Regions from separate parts of the Homo sapiens genome. Here region 1 is linked to region 2. The links are contacts of gene promoters, found by promoter capture Hi-C in human tissues and cell types (Jung and others, 2019). All regions are on one chromosome and are shown on one strand. Each heading gives the region's core, a stretch centred on a gene start or on the middle of the fragment in contact. The rest is flanking DNA. Distances are from core to core; before and after follow the strand shown.

Region 1 (6,298 bases), core at 3,579-6,078, 74 kb before region 2:
CTTAGGATCATGATGAGGATAAAATGAGATAATGTATGTAAAGTGCTTGGCACAGAGAAGAATTCCATAAATGTTTGTTTCCTTCCTTCCACAATTGTCTTTCATGTTGATAAGTTGAATGTCCATCCTTCAGAGAGGCACAATTTGATTTGAGAGCATTCAGCAGAGCCGAAGTTTCCTGCAATCACTCTGTCTGCCTCCTCCAGCTCAGAGGCCTTCTCGCTCCGAAATGGATCGATAAAGGAGAGAGGAAAAGGAGAGCGCAAGGAGGCCAGGCCGGCCTGCGTGCTGCTCACAGCTTCACAGGGCCCTCTGCTCCCAAGGCCCTGATCCTCCTGAGCTTCGGGCTGGGACTGTGACCGTGAGTTTGGCTGTAGTTTGTTTAATAAGGCATCTCACTTTCCCAAAATAGGCAACACGTGGAGACACTGCCCCATGACGCTGACTCACTTTCCCTGGCCTCATTTTCTTTTCCAAAAGCCATGAAGGGCATGACCGGCTCCTTCTCCAGCAGTTTGGTGTCTGCCTCCACCCAAAGGGCTTTCTGGGCGTCCATATGCCTCTCTGACACTCTGCTGTCTCCTTCAGGACCTTCCCTTCATTGGCCTGTCCCTTCAAAGACAGGGAGCGGACCCTTGGTCCTTAGCATTCGATGACCTTCCTTGACAATCTCACTTGCTCAGAATTTCACCCACTGCCTTCCTGCTCATGGCTCCCATATCTCTGTCTTCCAAGTTCCAGGTAGGCAAAGGTGAGCCCTACTTCACAGCTCTGACCTGGCTCCCCTCCAAGCACCTGCATCTCACCGTATCCCAAGCTGACTCACCTCCACCTCCAGTAACTCTGTCTTAGGTGGAGACACCACCAGCCGCCCAGGAGTTACCCTTGACTTCTCACACTGCTCTCACAGCCAAATCACCACTAAGCACTACTGATTTAATCTCCTAAATATGGCCTGAGTCTGTTTTCCCCTCCCTAGCCCCAAAGCCTCTCTCTCACCTCAACCTTCCAAAGACCTACCAAAGTGATAGATCTAGAATGTGCATCCATCATTCCCTGGCTTGACACACTTCAGTATCTCCCAATGGCCAGACATTCCCAAACACCAAAGTGACTGCAGGAGGTTCACCCTGCAAACATGTTTAAATGCAGATTTCTCAGCCCTGCCCATGAAGAGTTGGATGTAATTAATCTGACGCGGCACCTAAGAATCTAGGTTCCTGACAAGCATCCCAAGGAATTCTGATGTATATCCAGGATCGAGAACCACCGGCCCTTAGGAGAAACCCCATACTCCAAAGAGAATCTACAGAATCATCTGACTTGGCTTATACCAACCTCTTCAGCTAATCTTTAGCCAGTCCCTACTTTGTACTTAACCTTCCAGCAACGTCAATGAGTTTGCAGATCCCTCCTCACTCCACTCTTGCCCTGCCCTTCCCTCTCTACTTTACTGGCTCTTTCTTCTGTCCTTTCACCTGTCCACCCATGAGTCAGTACAGTGTTGAGAGGAAAGACCCTGGGGTCCAACCACCTGGATTCCATCCCGGCTCTATTGTTAACTGGCTGTATGACCTTAGGCAAATTCCTAACCTCTCTAAACTTTAGTTTCCTCTTCTGAAAACTTAGGACAAAACCACACTCTTCTTAGAGCTGTTGTAAGAATTAAATGAGACAGGCCGGGCGCGGTGGCTCACGCCTGTAATCCCAGCACTTTGGGAGGCCGAGGCGGGTGGATCATGAGGTCAGGAGATCGAGACCATCCTGGCTAACAAGGTGAAACCCCGTCTCTACTAAAAATACAAAAAATTAGCCGGGCGCGGTGGCGGGCGCCTGTAGTCCCAGCTACTCGGGAGGCTGAGGCAGGAGAATGGCGTGAACCCGGGAAGCGGAGCTTGCAGTGAGCCGAGATTGCGCCACTGCAGTCCGCAGTCCGGCCTGGGCGACAGAGCGAGACTCCGTCTCAAAAAAAAAAAAAAAAAAAAAAGAATTAAATGAGACAATGCACTGTTAACCCCTGGCTCCAGGTCAGCACCCAGTCAGCAATTGCTATTGTTATTAACATGACGTCCCCCTCCTCACTCTCAGCTCCAAGTCTCTATCGGTGATCCGATAGGAAAGTCTTTGACCCTATGCATGCATCCCCAGCATGTTGTTGCCACAGTGATACCCAGGAAATGGCAGCTGGATGAATGAATGAATGAGGTTTATTGTACTATACTACCCTAGGATGAAAAGTGGATACTTTATTAAAAGAGAAATCCTTCGTTTTGTATGTTAAATACACCCCGATTTTAAAAAACATATTAGCTAATAACATTTAGAGTACTAAAGAGCATTGAACCCAAAAATGTTTTCCAGGTCTCAGCTGGTGACTTGAGCTGATTTTCATTCACGGAAGCCCCTTTTCAGTCACCATTCAGTGATGTGATTGCTCCGCAAATGATACTGACCATGGGGTATCCCAGATTCCTTAGGCTGCACCAGCCAAATGAGCCACTGCCGCTAACAGTGGGCCATGGCAGTGCATTGCTGTCACTCAACAGCCAATTCTCATGCTCACCTGCCCGGCACTCCTCCCCTGCTCCGCTCTAACTGCCGTCACTAATGGCCACTTCAGCCCTCCTGTGTCCTGCACTGCCTGCAAGATCAGCCTGTTTGGATTCTCCTACACAAAACTTCTATACTCCCTTACCTGGCCTCATCATGGCAGCCTTAGCTTACAGTGAGTATTTCTGCCTCCTTGCCTTTGCTCATGCTTTGCCCTGCCTGGAATGCCATTTCCAACCTTCTTCTTTAGTTGTCTTATTCTTCATCTGTGCCCAAGTTCAAAATTCCACTTTTTCCATGAAGCCTTCCTTGATCATCTCAGACCACAGTGAACTCTCCCTCTTCCCATACTGATGGCCTTTATTACTCATGTCATTCTTTTCTTCATGCAGCCAATATCTAATAAACATCTATATGCCAGGCACTAGGTACTGTGATGACTAAAAAAGAAATAGTCCTGTTTTTCAAGGTGCTTAGAGTCCTGTAGAACTGAGCACGTACATGTTGTTATTGTAATTTCTCTCCATGCAGTGCCTGGTGTCCCCACGTGAACAGTGGACACCTTGAGAATAAATTTCCATGTGTAGGCTGGTCGGCTTCCCCAGTGACCAGCACAGTGCCTTGTTTGATACCGAGTGCTCAGCAAATGCTCATTGATAACACAGTCCTTGGTAACACCTGGAATGATGGAGACTCAAGGAGGGGCAGCCTCTGCAATTTAGTATTGCCACTATCACTCATTTATCCAGAAAGCACTAATCGAACCCCTGGTGTATGCTGGCCACCTGGCTGTCACCCACTAGCCCAGAGCAGAGTCCCCCTCCAGCTCAGCAGCTCTCCTCACCTGGACTGGCTGGCCCTGTTCCACACAGTAACCAAGAGACGCTTCTGATCATCCTCCTCTTGGACAGGACTGCGAAATCAATCAGACCATCGGAGTGTTAGTAAGGGCTGAGCTCCAGGCCATAGCTGACTCATAGAGTCAGTCATAATTCCAAAAATGTGGAAGTAACGTCAACAGCTGGTTAAATAAACTATATTACAAATAAAGTAAGAGATGACTACCTCCATGCATAAAACAGTTTATATTATGTTGTTAAGGACAAAAAGGAGGTTACAACATGCTATTATAAAATAATTCCATTTTCGGGCCGGGCACAGTGGCTCATGCCTGTAATCCCAGCACTTTGGGAGACAGAGGTGGGCGGATCATGAGGTCAGGAGATCGAGACCATCCTGGCTAACACGGTGAAACCCCGTCTCTACTAAAAATACAAAAAAAATTAGCCAGGCATGGCGGCAGGCGCCTGTAGTCCCAGCTACTCCAGAGGCTGAGGCAGGAGAATGGCGTGAACCCAGGAGGCGGAGCTTACAGTGAGCCGAGATTGTGCCACTGCACTCCAGCCTGGGTGACAGAGCAAGACTCCATCTCAAAAAAAAAAATTCCATTTTTGTAAACATACACACACAGACATATACACACACACATGCAAACATACACACCCACACGCAAACATACACATTAAAAGGTCTGAAAAGGTCTGAAAAGGACCTTAAAAGGTCTGAAAAGAAATACAGTAGGGCGTATCTGTGAGTAGGAGGGCTATAGGTGTTTTCTATTTTCTTCTTTTTACTCATCTATATTTTCTATTTTCCTATCATAACCAAAACTACTTTATGTAGTAAGAGAAAAACCAAAATATTAATTTTCACTAATAGGAAAATACAAAATGTACATTACCTTCCCATTGGCCCCAGAGTTCAGAGATTGGGGAAAGAAATAATAACAATAATAGCTGGTACCCTGTGTTATGTTATACTGTCCCATTTATACCCCACAGCTCTCTGAGGTTGCTACTATTATTAGCCCCATTTTACAAATAAGGAAGCCAAGGCTCAGAGAGGTTAGAAAGTTGAAGTAAAAAGGGGGGCAGGGAGGCAAAACATCCTTCAGCTTGGAAAATTCCTTCGGCTAAAGGAGAAAGCTTGGCCCAAGGCACAGTGGGAAATTGCCTACACTTTTTATGGGCTGCCAGCCCCAGGCTGGGCATTTTAGTTATGAGAGCTAGCCAAGTGATACCTTATCACTGTGGACCTCGCTGCTGGGCCTGGTGCCAGGGATGCAAGGACACAAGTGAGTGAGAAAACAAAGACATCCTTTAGAAGGCACTGGTTTTTTTTGTTTTGGTTTTTTTTTTTTTTTTTTTTTTGCATAGATCTAGTTCTAGATTTGGCAAACAGAGCTGTTTCCAGATAAACACTCCTTCCCTCTCCTTTCTAGGGCCCAGCTGCACCAGACTCTTACAAGAAGAAGTGCTCGTGGAAAGCCGGGTCTCTGCAGTCTGGAACGGTCTGCGTCTTCTGGTGGCGTAGTCTACTATCTTCAGGGATCAAAGAAATCTTGAATTGGAAAAAAGGAAGCATGATTAGCGGATCTCATGGCCCACCTAAGCCCAGCAGCTGACTCTGCACATCTCCAAGTTAAAGGCTTCCCAGGGTCCTTCAAGTCAGCCTCTGCAGAGGACAGAATAGAGTCCCCTGTCAGATGCTGCAAGGGAACAAGGAGCCCAGGGCAAGAGACATTGGAGGCAGATGCCAGGACAGGGCCTCATGGTGGGTGGTACCAAAAAGGCAGCCACGGCCCAGCCAGAGCTGGGGTACAACTTTATCATCTCTGCTCTTCCCCCAAGCAGAGTGGTTTCCCCAGAAGCGAAAGGACTCCTCTCTTCTAAGGTCCCAGCAGCTGCTGAGTGCTCCCTTCACGAAGGCTCCAGGTCAGCCTCTGCCAAGGCCCCAAATCCATGTTCTCAACCCAGGGCTGTTCTAGCCCTGCTCCTGATAAATTCCTTGCCAGCAGGGGCTTCTGATCAGCCTGAAGGCTTCAGGAAGAATGCTGAGGGCCAGCACCTGGAACCCCAGCTGCCACACTTTAGGAAGCTCCTGGCCTTTGGCTCTCACTGAAAGTAGAGCCCCACCCCTATAAGGACCCTGTCTTTACAGCAAAAGCCCAACCCAGAAGGATCTTCCAGCCCTCAGAGACACTCCCTCCACTCTACTGCCCAAATCTGGCCATCCTGCCCCTAGTTTGGGGGGAAAGTGGGTGAAAACGGTGCTTTTCACAAGAGGTCTTGGGATTACCTGTGGATTTCAGCCATCCACATACTCACTGCCCACCTATATAGATGACCAAGATCGCCCTTAAGATTTTGGCTGTTGCAGGAAGCCCCAGGGACCCAGCCGAGCTAAGGGAATGGGTTTGTCCCAGCACTGGGCCCAATAAATGCCTATTGAGAAGATGAGTGAGATGGCAACTGCCTCCTCAAAGGTCACCAGCCCCACAGGTGTGCTGGGACCTTGGGACTGAGCCCAGTAACATGGCCCCTCAATATCCCACTCTCCATCTCCGGCCCCACCACATACCTTCACATACGGATCACAGGTGCCAGGCTGTTTGCTGATCAGGCCTTTACCTTCTATAACTAAAAGAGAATTCAGACATTGGGGTGGATGAATGGAAACATACACACACACACAGCGAGAAAGAGAGACACACATAGACATATCCATCCACACGAATAAAGAGACCTGAAAAGAAAAGCGTATCTGTGAGTAGCAGGGCTATGGCCCCTGCTACTAGGCCCTTAATCTGCATAACCACCATTGGCTATGAACCTGCTCTGGTCTAGGCCATTCCCACCATCTTCCACTCTCTGGCAGCACCCTCACCAATGCATTACGAGGTACATTC
Region 2 (6,810 bases), core at 3,858-6,357:
AATTTTTTAAGTCTAAGTTTTCCACAGATACCTGTCCCTTTGTTTCATGTACCAGCAAGCACTCATTGGGTACACAGACATTGTAGGAGACTCAAGAAAAGAAAAAAAAAAGGCACTGCTTTTTCCTTTAGGAGCTTACAAATAGTTTCATACCTAAAAATAAAATATTATTATAGAAAGACAGGGGCCGGGCATGGTGGCTCACGCCTGTAATCCTAACACTCTGGGATTACAGGATAACCCCTTTACATTATTCATTCATCCATGCATGTAACACGTCTTTTTAAAAATAAGACAAACAGCAAGTGATATGAAAATACAAGGATATGAGTTTTTTACTGTGGTAAATATATACATAACAAAAATTGACCATTTTAGCCATTTTTAAGCACACAATTCATTTCAGCTCACGAGTTCAAGACCAGCCTGGGCAAACATGGCGAAAACCTGTCTATACAAAAAATCCAAAAATTAGCCGGGAGTGGTGGCGCGTGCCTGTGGTCCCAGCTATTTGAGAGGCTGAGGCTAGAGAATCACTCGAACCCAGGAGGTGGAGGTTGCAGTGAGCCGAGATCACGACACTGTACTCCAGGCTAGGCAACAAAGTAAGACCCTATCCCCCACCAAAAAAAAAGGAAATAGAAAGACAGGGTTGGGCATGGTGGCTCACACCTGTAATTCTAGCACTTTGGGAGGCTGAGGCGGGTGGATCACTTGAGGTCACGAGTTTGAGACCAGCCTGGCCAACATGGTGAAACTCTGTCTCTACTAAAAATATAAAAATCAGCCACGCATGGTGGTGCACGCCTGTAATTCCAGATACTCGGGAGGCTGAGGCATGAGAATTGCTTGAACCTGGGAGACAGAGGTCGTGCCATTGCACTCCAACCTGGGTGACAGAGTGAGACTCTGTCTCAAAAAAGAAAAAAGAAAGATGGCATATATGGATGGTTTTCTGTCCGTACATACAGATGCTGATAAGATGGGCTGAATTGTGTCCTCCCAAAATTCATCGTTAAAGTCCCAACTAGTACTTCAGAATTTGACTGTATTTGGAGATATGGTTTTTTAAAAAGTTATTAAGGTAAAAATGAAGTCACATGAGGGGGCCCTAACCCAGTAAGACTGGTGTCCTTGTAAGAAGAAATTAAGACACAGACGCACAGAGGGAAGACCATGTTAACACATAGGGAGAGGGGCTCAGTATGGTGTCTCATGCCTGTAATCCCAACAATTTGGGAGGCCAAGGCAGGAGGATCACTTGAGGCCAGGAGTTCAAGACCGGCCCAGGCAACAAAGCAAGACCTCGTCTCTAATAAAAGTAAAAAAAAAAAAAAAAATTAACCAGGCGTGGTGGTGCACACTTGTAGTCCTAGCTACTTGGGAGGCTGAGGTGGGAGGATCGCTTGAGCCCAGAAAGTTGAGGCTGCAGTGAGCTATGATCGCACCATTGCACTCTAGTCCAGCCTGGGTGACAGGGTGAGACCCTGTCTCAAAAAAAATAAATAAAAAGGACACAGGGTATAAAAAATTACCATCTACAAACCAAGAGTGGTCTCAAAAGCAAACAGTCTTGGCAACACCTTGATATTGGACTTCTAGCCTCAAGAATTACAAGAAAATAAATTTTGTTGTTTAAGGCACCCAGTCTATGGTATTTTGTTATAACAGCCCTACCGAACCAATATACCTCCCAAATTAACCAATTCCTAGGGCACAAGCAGGAAGGGTTTCTTTCTGTTTCCCACTGCCTATTCACCACTTCTTTAACCCAATTGGTATTTTCTTTTTAATCTAGCTTTCTCAAAGTATACTAATGGATAAGGAAAATCATAATCCAGAATTTTGAGACAATAGGCTGTAAAGGAAGATTCCATGATAATTTACCTGCCATGAAATTTGGAGTAAAACTTTGAACTCTGAGACAATAAAGAATGGGCCTTAGTAAAGGTACATTCTGGTAAATGATGAGCTGCAAAGCCGGAATCTAAGATGTCTACCACGGTGAGCACTGGGAGTTTATCTAAGAAGGCAGACCAGAAGAAAACATGTTAACCTGCTGCCTGGAGAAAGGGAGCCACATACATAAATACGTTAAGGACCTCGTGAGGGAGAGGACAGAAGCTGGCTAATTCACCTTCAGCATCCAGGGGAGTTTTGCAGGATGAGCCGAGGATTCGAGGATGGCCCCTCTCAATGCGGCGGATAGTTGCCCAGCATTGTGGGTGCTGACAAACAGCCAAGCCACAGGTGGTTTCGTCCCACTGGCTCTCATCTGGCAAGTCCATAGCTAGAAATGGTTTAGGCCAAAGGCCAACCCTGCAGCATTCTAGTGCTCTGGAAAATCAACAGCTACATAATTAGGGAGTATTATACATTAGCCATACAGTCCAGATGTTAATTTGAACTCACAGTATAAAATATTTCTATTGAACCTATATAGGTAAATGATGGCCACAAAATAATTAAAGATTGGATAACAAGCAAGTATGAAAATAGCTCAGCATAAAGTAGAATGGCAAGAGTTTGAGAGCAGGACTTCAGGTCTCCTAATTGGCTATTTAATAGCTGAGTGACCTGGGACTTAACCAGTCTGAGCCTGTTGCCTCCACTGTAAAATGAGGATAAGCTTATTTCACAGGGTCATTATAAAAATTAGTTAATGGATATTAAAAGCCTGGCATATTGTTCCAAATAAATATTTGCATCCTTTCCTTTTCCCCTTCGTTAGTCATCAGGGAGAAGATGCCACCATCTCCAAAAAGCATTATCAAATTATGACCAAAGTAGTCACAGAAGTGTCTTAGAAGGCCCAAACTTCTGGAAGACATGTTTCATTTTTCAATGTGCTTCAGTTCCCATGCAGGCAGATAAAATACCCACCAGCAATGAATGTGTTTGCTCAAATAGCAAATCACTAGACACTGCTAGTTGCATCAGAGGCCATTAGCTTTTCATTCATTGGCCATATGGCCTTTGACAAGGGTCTTCACACCTCTCTCTCAAGTAGGGGGAGGGGTCCTGACTTGGTGTCTCAGGTCTGTAACCACAGCACTTTGGTAGGCCAAGATGAGTTACCCCCTCTCCACAAAAAATAATAAATAACATAAGCAGAAGGCAGGGAATCCCTAAGTAGGACTGCAGAAGCATTAAATGAGATAATGTACTTTTATTCATGGGAGGTGTTCAATAAATATTATCATCTTTTCCTTTCTAGAGGTGTTTTAGGCAATCACTAACTACCACCTTATTCCTAAGAACTTTTTAAGGACAGTGTCCATTTCTTTCTTTTATTCAACACATTTATTGATTACTAAATATGTGAGGGGACCTGCTTTGGACATGAACAGTAATAAACAAACTCCCTGTTCTAAACAGTTTCATAATTTAGATCAAAGATAAACTATCAGCCTGGGATTGCACCTGGCCTATTACTTGTTTTGTTTGGCTAGCACTTTGAATCAATTTTAAATTTGAATCAATTTTAAAATTGAAATAGCCCACAATGTCCTTTTAGGGACCAAAATACTTGACAACACTGAGCCCAATTCCAGTTGAAGAGCAACTGACTAGCGCTGAGCAGCCCTGATGGTTTCAGCCAGGTCTGTTCTATCCAAGCGGAGTTCCCCCACCAGACCTTATGGTCTCTAATTGAAACACTTTCAGTTGCCATTTATCATAGCATTTGCTCTTTTGTTTTAAAATATTTCTCTATAATCAGGCTTCTATCGAAAGCAGGAAAACTACAGGGCGACTTGGGACTGCATGCTTGACGGGAAAAAAAAGCAGCATTAATTCTCAGTGGGAGGCTGGGCGCCGTGGCTCATGCCTGTAATCTCAGCACTTTGCAAGGCCGAGGGAGAATCACTTGAGCCCTGGAGTTCGAGACCAGCCTGGGCAACATGGTGAAACCCTGTCTCTACGAAAAATACAAAAAATTAGCTGGGTGTGATGGAACGCACCTGTAGCCCCAGCTATTTGGGGCTGAGGTGGGAGGACCACCTGAGCCAGGGAGGTCGAGGCTACAGTGAGCCGAGACCGTGCCGCTGCACTCCAGCCTGGGGGACGGAGTGAGACCCTGTCAAGAAATTTTAAAAATTAAAAAATAAATAAAATCAGTGGGAGTGAGAATTTCTACGAACTTAATATAAAAATAACTTAAAAACAACTTAAAACACCATTGCGCCGGGCGCGGTGACTGGCGCCTGTAATCCCTGCACTTTGGGAGACCGAGGCGGGCGGATCACGAGGTCAGGAGATCGAGACCATCTTGGCTAACACGGTGAAACCCTGTCTCTACTAAAAATACAAAAAAATTAGCCGGGCGTGGTGGCGGGCGTCTGTAGTCCCAGCTACTAAGGAGGCTGAGGTAGGAGAATGGCGTGAACCCGGGAGGCGGAGCTTGCAGTGAGCCGAAATCGGCGCCACTGCACTCCAACCTGGGCGACAGAGTGAGACTGTCTCAAAAAAAAAAAAAAAGAAACGCCATTGCAAAACCTTGAGAATGGTTTTAACTGGAAAAAATGTATGATGAACAATTTAACTGAAAAATAAATACAATTTTAACACGGTTTGTTTTTGAAAGCGAATGTGACGTTGCATTCTTCATACAGTGAAAAGGCTGCTTCTCGCCCTTTCGTTACCTGCCCAGTCCGAATTGACTCCTGAGACCTAATCAGGCGCATCTCTATATGGCCAGCATTATCCCTGGGCTGCCTAAATAGTTCGCGTTAAACACAAACAACAACAATAAAATCTAAATAACACTCAGTCTTAGTACCATTATTACAAAAGCGTGAGGGGCGAAAAGATTAAAAATGAACATCAACTTCGGTAGAGATGGAAAAAGACTGCCCACTCCATTCCAGGAAAGAAAAAAGAAAGTGGGAGAATCTGATCACGACGGGCTGAGGTCCTGTGAGAGCAAAGCAGATTCCAAACCGCTTAGGGTTGCTAAATCAAGTGGTAAAACGTGGCCCCTTGCGGCGCGGTGAGATTAACGGACCCGGCGGGCCCAGAGCCTGCCTCGGGTCCTAAAGGGATCCGCCCCGCCGAGTCAGCCACGCCTTCGTCTCCCACGCGCTGCGCCCGGCCGCGCCGTCACCCAGCAGCGGCGCAGGGCACCATGGGAAACGGACGGAAGCTCCATTGAGCCAAATAAGTTGGTGAGAAGGTTCCCGACGCGGCGATGGCGAGAAGCAGAGAAATGGACCTGGGGAGGGGCGTGCGGGGTGCGGTAGGGTTGGATGGAAGCCTTGGCGGGCCAAAACCACTGCGGCTTCAAAATCCGGATGCGCCGGTATTTGAGGCGGAGGCGGGGCTGTGGGGGGAGGAGGGAGGCTATGGCGCTCAGAGCACTGTGGGACACTGTAGGCCACGTGGGGCGGAACGGAAACCTCGCAGGGTCAGACCGTAGCGACGCGGGAAGTCCGGACGCAGTAGCTCCCTGAAGCGGAGGCGAAGGGGAGTTTAAGCCCCAGCGGCGGCAATGGCGGAGAGGCCCGAGGACCTAAACCTGCCCAATGCCGTGATCACCAGGATCATCAAGGAGGCGGTGAGCAGCTCGGGGGGGGCGGACGAACGGGCAGGAGGGAAGCAGGTGCTGGAACGGCAGCTTTGCTCACCCCCGGTCTCCTCGCAGCTCCCGGACGGTGTCAACATCTCCAAGGAGGCCCGGAGCGCCATCTCCCGCGCCGCCAGCGTCTTCGTGCTGTACGCCACATCCTGGTGAGCGGGACAGAGGCATAAGGGAGGCGCGGGGATACCTGGCTGGGAGTTGCTGGCTGGGAGCCTACAAACCCCAACGATTGTGTTCTCCCTCGGTGGGGACATGTTCACAGTCCTCTGCCAGTTTTTACAAGTTCTGAAGCAAAATAACACAACAAAATCACTTTGCTTTAGCTTTTTTGTGCAGAGAAGGGAAGGACTTATCCCTGTCACACCAAAATCCATACATGTAAGAGGCAGGCTTTCCCGTTCCACCTCTGGGTGCTCCTTTTCCCACTCACGCCTTACAAACAAGAGGGAGTCTGACAGCCTTTCTCTTCTCTCAGTGCTAACAACTTTGCAATGAAAGGAAAGCGGAAGACGCTGAATGCCAGTGATGTGCTCTCAGCCATGGAAGAGATGGAGTTCCAGCGGTTCGTTACCCCATTGAAAGAAGCTCTGGAAGGTAACGAGCCTCTTGTCTTCTAAACCACATAGAAGATGGTCATCCTGTGTGACCTGTTCACCAGGCCCTGAGCCTTCTCAGCGCGGGTCCCTTTAAGTCCAGTAAGCCAGCACTTGATGTGACTCGACCCAGTTCGGTGGGCACCACCTCAGATCTGTTTTGTAATGCTGAGCAAGTTATTTTTCCTTCTCTGCCTCCGTTTTTGTTTTTGTCTTGCTTTTCTTGTTTTTGTTTTTTTTTTTTTTTTTTTGAGACGGAGTCTTGCTCTGTCACCCAAGCTGGAGTGCAGTGATGGGATCTCAGCTCACCGCAGTCTCCTCCTCCTGGGTTCAAGCAATTCTCCTGCCTCAGCCTCCCGAGTAGCTGGGACTACAGGCGCACGCCACCACGTGCGGCTCATTTTTTATTTTTGTAGAGACGGGGTTTCACCATATTGGCCAGGCTGGTCTTGAACTCCTGACCTCAGGTGATCCGCCCGTCTCAGCCTCCCAAAGTGCTGGGATTACAGGCGTGAGCCACCGCGCCCATCTGCCTCCGTTTTTCCAATTGTACAATGTAATTAGCTCCTGCAGTCCGTCTGGCTCACTTTCAGCTCTGTCTCCTAACCCCTTGTTCCGTCCTTACAGCATATAGGCGGG

Evidence for each region. The method cuts DNA at HindIII sites, captures the fragments that hold promoters and counts their contacts. A contact is called where the count stands out against the background at its distance.
Region 1: a fragment that was not itself captured here is called in contact with the fragment with the promoter of POLE3 in region 2 in 2 of the 25 tissues and cell types used here (aorta and pancreas).

The regions. Positions count from the first base shown.
Region 1 is chr9:113,482,790-113,489,087 of GRCh38, reverse strand. It overlaps RGS3 (regulator of G protein signaling 3), which reads right to left. Exons shown (of 23, transcript NM_001394167.1): 3 at 5,971-6,029; 4 at 4,856-4,950; 5 at 3,395-3,463. Among named protein-coding and RNA genes, the nearest start is that of RGS3, 22 kb to the right of the region's middle. The HindIII fragment of the contact is 6,557 bases long and covers 1,550-6,298 here.
Region 2 is chr9:113,408,972-113,415,781 of GRCh38, reverse strand. POLE3 (DNA polymerase epsilon 3, accessory subunit) reads left to right here and starts at 5,107. Exons shown (of 5, transcript NM_017443.5): 1 at 5,107-5,165; 2 at 5,374-5,554; 3 at 5,642-5,727; 4 at 6,054-6,172; 5 at 6,799-6,810. The coding sequence starts at 5,489. It overlaps C9orf43 (chromosome 9 open reading frame 43), which reads right to left and starts at 5,035. Exons shown (of 14, transcript NM_001278629.2): 1 at 4,781-5,035; 2 at 2,138-2,337; 3 at 1,888-2,023. The coding sequence starts at 2,288. RefSeq lists enhancers at 3,508-4,407, 5,026-5,215, 5,456-5,735, 5,308-6,207, 5,110-6,309. The HindIII fragment of the contact is 6,520 bases long and covers 732-6,810 here.